2 separate regions of the Homo sapiens genome follow, and region 1 is linked to region 2. Evidence: promoter capture Hi-C in human tissues and cell types (Jung and others, 2019). All regions are on one chromosome and are shown on one strand. Each heading gives the region's core, a stretch centred on a gene start or on the middle of the fragment in contact. The rest is flanking DNA. Distances are from core to core; before and after follow the strand shown. Region 1 overlaps LOC107986770 (a long non-coding RNA gene). Region 2 holds the start of VWDE (von Willebrand factor D and EGF domains).

The links. Contacts are between HindIII fragments. The study calls those that stand out against the background at their distance.
Region 1: a contact is called between a fragment that was not itself captured here and the fragment with the promoter of VWDE in region 2, in 1 of the 25 tissues and cell types used here (dorsolateral prefrontal cortex).

What each region holds. Positions count from the first base shown.
Region 1 is chr7:13,500,159-13,503,839 of GRCh38, forward strand. All of the region lies in intron 2 of LOC107986770 (a long non-coding RNA gene), which reads left to right. Among named protein-coding and RNA genes, the nearest start is that of ETV1, 490 kb to the right of the region's middle. The HindIII fragment of the contact is 7,390 bases long and covers 1-3,681 here.
Region 2 is chr7:12,402,128-12,406,110 of GRCh38, forward strand. It overlaps VWDE (von Willebrand factor D and EGF domains), which reads right to left and starts at 1,738. Exons shown (of 29, transcript NM_001135924.3): 1 at 1,532-1,738. The coding sequence starts at 1,589. RefSeq lists enhancers at 1,026-1,593, 1,594-2,159 and silencers at 1,296-1,590, 1,484-1,533, 2,471-2,660. The HindIII fragment of the contact is 10,470 bases long and covers 1-3,983 here.

The DNA.
Region 1 (3,681 bases), core at 1,086-3,585, 1.1 Mb after region 2:
TAAAATGTGATTTAACATGGTTGCATAATGTATCCCCTGATTACAGATTTCTTTTATTTTTATAATTTGCTAAGCTGCTAGAAGATCATTACTAAATAAAATTAGGGAAAGGAACAATTACTTTATTGTTGCTTATAATATAAACATTAAGGGCAGGCTTAGTATACTAAATTGCTATAATTCTGAAGATAAATCTATGAGTTATACTCTTGGCATCAAGATAAACATGCTTGCAAGTATTAACTCTTGAATTCAAATGCTATGTTGAACTCATAAGAACAGTGAATGGCACCACAAGTTAGATTAAAAAGTTACATTTTTATAAATGTGGAATATTGATAAAAGAAAGAGTAACAAATTGCAAGAGAATTTGTGTGCTTCCTTTCTATGTGAGTCACCTGGAAATATCTTCATGTTCTTTGAGTGACGGCAAAAAAACACATCAACCTTTTATTTAAGCTCTTATACTGTGCCGCGTGTTGAAACAGAAGTCAGTGAATAATACTTATTTTTAACTGCCTTAGAAATTAAGAAAGTATCTAATTTAGATAAGAAAAACTCCATGTATTTCAAAATAAGAGAAAACATAAAGCTTTTGACAAAAATGTATATAGGAATCTGTGTGTCTATAGACAAAATACACTATATCTTTACTGCAATCATTACGTAAGAAATCTATACTTTTTAATAACCAAGGAAAACCCTAAAATACTAAAGTGGACTTTTCTTCACAGGTAAAATGCTATTAATTAGACAAATGCATTTACTCAGGCACACCCAAACTTATACATACGTAGCTTTTGCATGAAATTTAAATATTTAGCACTTCATGAAACTGAAATGTTTAGCACCTCTAAAGTGTAGAATGACCCTTGGAATCAGGATGAAGAAAAGGGCATGCCACAAATAATGTTTTTCCTGTGGGAAAACATGCTGATGTATCACAATATTTCCATTCATTGGAAAAGAAAACATATGAAAGCATGTGAAAGAATTAGAAATGATAATTCCCACTATCAATATTCCAACACTTACTTTGGTCCTTATTGGATGAAAAACTTAATTACCAAAATCCAGATATAAATCATTTATTTAGTCATGTAAAACCAAAAATTCTTAGTAATTTTATAAGTTCCTTAAGGTTAGTGGAGTCTTGAGTCCAGATATAAATCATTAATTTTATAAGTTCCTTAAGATTAGTGGAGTCTTGAGTCTTATGAAGATTCAATATAATTTAGAGATTCAAATTTAGGTTCAAATGAGCAATGCTCACTTATCCTGGGCTGATATTATAATCTAATTTTGAAATAAAGGAAGTTTTACAAATGTAGCTTCAGAACAAAATGATTTTAAGTCTAGAAGTGTTTCTTTCAAAGTTACAATACATTATATGAAACCATTTCATAAACTGACCCTGATTTTGAAGCTCATCTCCTAGGAGGTAACCTGAAAAATCAATTTTAATATAGAATAATTATTAAACCTTTATTCTAAGATCTCAGGTATATCTAATCATGGTCTATTTGAACAGTAGTGTCAGATCCAAAAGTATCCTCTAATAACAAATAAGATAATTCTCTCCTAGAAACTTCAAATTGAATACAACAGTAAGACATATATTCCTTGTACTGAGAATTCTGTATTCAATAAATCAAGCTTATAATTTTGCTTATCTTATCCATATCTTTACTAATTTTGGTCTTATTAATCTATCAGTGACTGTAAGAAATGTGTTGGAATCTCCTTCCTTGGTAGAGAATTTGTCCATTTCGTTTTGTAATTCTTTCCAATTTTTCTTGTATACTTTGAGGTTATTTTTATTAGTGACTTATAAGTTTATAATTGTTATTATAATATTACCAAATCAAGCCCTTTACATGATGGGACTCTGTATATAATAATGCTTTTAAGTTGAAGTCTATTTTGTCTTACTTAATATAGTTAACTCAGCTTTCTTTAGATTATTATTTACCTAGTGTATCTTGTTAATCCTTTACTTCAAACCTTGCCATGCCGTATGTTTTAGAAGTGTCTTTTATAAATACCATATAGGTAGATTCGTATGAACCCAATCTGAAAATTCAATCTTTTAAAAAATCACTTACTTTTCTGGGATACTTCAAAGAAAATAGCAAACAGCATACTCCACCACAAAATTCCTTAAATCTCAAAAAACATTCTTTATATGCAAAAAAAAATTATTACCTGTTATGGACTGAACTTTTGTGTGCCTCCCAAATTCATACATTAATTTCTTAACCCTCAATGCAATGGTATTAGGAGGTAGAGCCTTTGGCAAGTAATTAGGTCATGAGGATGGGGTGCTTATGCATGGGACTAGTGCTCCTATAAAAGGGTCCTCAGAGGCCCCTCTCACCCTCTTTCTTCCATGTTAGGATACAATGGGAAGCTGGCAGTCTGTAACCTAGAGGAGGGCCCTCGCCAGAATTCAACCGTGCTGGCACCTTGATCTCAGACTTTCAGCATCTGGAATTATGGCAAATATATTTCTGTTGTTCATAAGACACCCAGTTTATGGTATTTTGGTATAGTAGTGTTGACTAGGACAACACCTGCGATGCTTAATTTTTTGTGTCAATTTGGGTAAACTGTAGTGCACAGTTGTTTTGTCAAACACTAGTCTAGATGTTACTGTGAAGGTATTTTTTTAGATGTGATTAAGATTTACAATCAATTGACTTTATGTAAAAGCAGATCACCTCTCATAATGTGTGTAGGCCATATTCAATCCGTGAAGGTCTACACAAAGACAGCTTTCCTGAATAAGAAAGAATTCTGCCTCAAGACTGCAATATAGAAATCTTGCAGCAGGGCACAGTGGCTCACGCCTGTAATTCCAATACTTTGGGAGGCTGAGGTGGGTGGATCACCTGAGGTTAGGAGTTTGAGACCAGCCTGGCCAATGTGGCGAAACTCCATCTCTATTAAAAACACAAAAAATTAGCTGGGCATGGTGGCAGGCGCCTGTCATCCCAGCTACTTAGGAGGCGGGAGAATTGCTTGAACCCGGGAGGCAGAGGTTGCAGTGAGTGAAATCACACCATTGCACTCCAACCTGGGCGACAGAGCGAGAATCTGTCTCAAAAAAAAAAAAAAAGAGAGAAAGAAATCTTGCTTGAGTTTCGGCCTGCTGGCCTACCATTCAGATTTCAGACTCAAGACTGTAACATCAACTCTTTCCAGAATTTTCAGCCTGCCAGCCTGCCCTACAGAATTCAGACTTGTCAGCCTCCACAATCAGGTAAGACAATTCCTTAAGAAAAAAACCTCAATCTCTCTCTGTTTTCCTTCTTCTCACTCTCTGTTTTTTCTACCTCAATATAGATATAGATATAGATGACATAGATATACATACAGATATAGATAATATAGATATAGCTGTATCTTTAATTAGTTCTATTTCTGTGGTGAAGCCTGACTAAAAGAACATGTAATACATTTAATAAAATATAGCCGGGCGCGGTGGCTCATGCATGTAATCCCAGGCATGGGCGGTCGAGGTGAGTGGATCACTTGAGGCCATTCAAGACCAGCCTGGCCAACATGGTGAAACCCCATCTCTACTAAAAACACAAAAACTAGCCAGGCATGATGGCGCACGCCTGTAATTCCAGCTACTCGGGAGACTGAGGCAGGAGGATGGCTTGAACCTGGGAGGCG
Region 2 (3,983 bases), core at 488-2,987:
TTATCGCTGGGGAGAAAGGGAGGGTGATAGCCGGCATGCGGCATGATAGCCCAGGGTATAGTATTTCTTTCTGATTGATAAATATGTTCTAAAATTGACTGTGGTCATCGCTGCATATACCTGTAAATATACTCTGAATATACACATATCTGTGAAAATGAAAAACCATAGAGTCGCACACTTTGAGTGATTTGTATGGTATATGAACATCTTAATAAAGCTATTTGAAAAAAAGAAGTCTCAATAAATGCATTTTCCATTTACCTCGTCTTCTAGTTTTACTCCATTAAACATAAAGAACTTGACAATGTTACCAATGTTATGAACTTAAAACCTGGTAATGGGTAATATTTGTCTTCAGCAGAGAGATTACAAAGCTATTATATAGAGGCAAAAAAGGGTTATGCGGTCTATAGTAAACATGAAATCATCTTCCTTTATAAACATTGGTCATTTTTTTCCTGGAAATATTTATCTAACTGTAATGAACAGATATATGTTATTACATGTATTTTTTAAAGTTATTCATAAAGATTTAGTAACGCTGTAAGCAAACCAAAGAAGGACCAGAAAAAATATCATTGCAGAAAATAATAAATTTGATTTTAGTATTTTATTTTTAAGTTTTGTATAGGATAGTGTTTGTATTCCCCTTATACAAAGCAAACTTACATCAGTAAAATGAGTTAAGATCAAAAAATGATAAGACAAAACTATACCCTGGACTGCTATAAATGTTGTACATAATGTTTTTTCAAGCTGCAGATGGTTGAACACAGATCAGACTTTTTCTGAAAAACGTAAGGAAACTTGCAATATAAGAACAAGTCACCTTTCATTAATATTCCTATCTGTATGAACACAAAAAACAAGCAAAAAGGGCTAATGAAAGTAGTTTTGGTTTAACTTCACTGTATTTTAAACTAAATGTTCTTTGTCATGGATTAAAGAAGTAGGAGGGGAGTATTCGCTCCACAGAGATCTCTTTTACAGTGCCAAAACTGATTCTAACATATATATACAAAAACCATAATACAGTATAATACGGATATACAAAACTTAACTTGGTGATTTATTGTAGGGATAAAATGTTCACCAATGAATTATTTCTGAGGGTCCGGTTGGAGGTGGAATTCGTGCAGTATGGAATTCAACTCTGTTCTGAGAATTCAGGTCCACTTGCGGCTAGCATACCTTGCAGATCCGGCGAAAGTTTCTTACAGTAAATTACAATGACCTCAAAGAGCAGGATAACAGCAGGAAACAACCAAAAACAGAACCAAGGGTCGTAGAGTAAGAGGAGGCAACAACCGCATGTGCGCAAAAGAAAAGTGTAGAGTTTTCAAGCTGGAAATTGACCTTTTCAAAGACAGCAGAGGGACAGAGAGGAGGCGGGTGAGGAACAAACATCGCTTGCTGCCTTAAAACGCACAGGGACGCTCCCCAAGTCGTCCAAAAAGTCTAGCCTAGTCCCTCTACCGCCCACGCGGCGCCACTGCGCGCCCACCCCCGCGCGCCCTACCTCGCTTACCTTCCCCCCAGGCCAGGAACATCAGCGCGATCACCAGCACGCAGGCTCCGCCAGGCATCGCTGCTTCCGCAGGTGGGGCGAAAGGCGTCGCAGAGCCCGGGCCGCGGGTGCCAGGAGGATGGGGCCACAGCAGCCCCTCGGGCCTCCTTTCTTGGATTTTCTCAGTCTGTTGCTGCTTGGAACAGGGAAGCTCCGCGTCCTCGTTCTGGGGTGCACCCAGTCCTTTCGTGGGATAGAGCCTTCGCGTAATCCGTCTGCGACTCCTCCCTTCCCATTTTGGCTGCTGGCTGACCTGAAAGCCACGCCCAACCTGTCCCCATAGCCCAGCGTGTACCGGCAGTGGCTCCGCCGCCTTGGATGTCACCGTGCAGTCGCACAGCCAGGAGTCAAGCTACAGGGATGTAGCTCTCCGCCCGCTGCGTCTTGCTGTTCTAACAGAGGCTGTATGAAAACTTGGTAATCCTAGAAACTGCTCAGATGGACCTCGCATAAAAGAAGCCTCACAAGGTTCCGTTGGAAGGGGAAGTTTCCCATGATTGTATCTGCAGACGGATTCCTAACTGCGTAATGGGCGCTACTGGTTTGCACCCCAAGGCGAAGGCGCTGAAAATGCTCCTGTCACCTTAGATCTCAGTGATGAACGACAGGAGGAGGAGTAGACACTAACGTTGCAACAGTAGATGCCTTTTCTTCTGCCTCTGTGACAGGTTTTCAGAAGTGGAAAGGACCGCATTTAGACACTAGCCAAACCATGAGGTTTGTCACCTGTATTTGCCAGTGATTCCCAGAGCTCTTACAGTTGTCCCAGGACGCTTTAGCACATGGCCACACGACTCCCAAGGTTGACCTGGGAGTTATTAGAAGATCAGAGGGCTCTAATGTCTTCCCCCAACCTCGTTTTTGTTTTGTTTTGTTTTGTTCGAGACAAGGTCTCACTCTGTCACCCAGGCTGGAGTGCAGTGGCACAGTCACAGCTCGCTGGAGCCTTGAACTCCTGGCGTCAAGCGATCTTCCCCCTCAGTCTCCCAAAATGCTGGGATTACAGGCGTGAGCCACCGTGCCAGGTCTAAGGTCTTCAGAAGTGTGGTTGCCTCTGCAGAGGAACAGGGTCCTTTTTTCAACTGATTCTACATCTTTTTATGTCTGAAAATGAAACCTCACTGTCCTAGTTTTTCCCTGGCTGTCTCATTCCTTGAGTCTCCCATCCATCACCTTGCACTTGGTTCTCACAGAGCCTTTACCTGAAGAGGATAGTTTGGGGGTCCAAGTGGGCACCAAGGTTCCACCCACAAATTTGGAGGTTCAAGGTTGGCCTAGGCATGGTGGTGGAAACAGGAGGTGTCCAAATGCATAAACAAGTATTTTTTTAATTTCATATAATTCTTTATTTTTAATTTGAAAGGTAAATTACCATTTAAAATTTTAAAGCTTATCATCTCCATAGTAAAAATATTAACCCATATTGGAAATAATTTCTTTTTGGTACACAATACTTGTGTGTAGCCATCTTTCAAATGCAGCAAGGGCACCCAATTTTCTGGATTAAAAATAAAATATTACTTTTTGGTGGACGGTAGACAGGTGATTTTTATCTTAAGGCTTAAGTATGGAAGGGCAATATAATGTAGGCACAATGAAAACCCAGAGATTTCTTAGTGTACAGTTAAGTCTTTTGTTTCCGCTTAAAAAATTCTAATAAAACAGACAAGAAATTAAATGTCAGTTTTCTCAATCTATTTGTGAAATCACCAGGAACAAAGTAATTTGATGTGAATCAAATCATAGCAGGACTTTTGTGAATTTATTTTCTAGCAGTATCTATACAAATGTAGTAAACTTTTATACTTTCTTGGAGGACAACATTACTTATCTGACTTCCATCAAAATACAATTTCAGGTATCGTGGGCCTTATTTTTTTCTTCAGTTTTTGATTGTTTATGAGTTTATGAGTTTACAATAAACTTGTGCCAAAACCCAACTTCCCTCCATGTGACTAAAGATGGAAAAAACTAAAAGCAACTTAAGAATTTTTTTTCAAGTCTCAGTAACCTGGCTTGGATCTGCAAGAATGTATCAATTAAATGCTGGTTATATCACGCCTGTAATCCCAGTGCTTTGGGAGGTCGAGGCAGGCGGATCACCTGAGGTCAGGAGTTCAAGACCAGCCTGGCCAACATGGTGAAACCCCATCTCTACTAAAAATACAAAACATTAGATGGGCGTGGTGGCGTTCGCCTGTAGTCCCATCTACTCGGGAGGCTGAGGCAGGAGAATCGTTTGAGCCCAGGAGGCAGAGGTTGCAGTGAGCCAAGATAGCTCCTCTGTACTCCAGCCTGGGCGACAGAGCAAGATTCCATCTCAAAAAAAAAAAAAAAAAAAAAAAAAATTAGTTATAGAACTGTATGGAAAACAAAAAGTAATGAAAATGTTTTAATCTATGTCTCGTGAAGT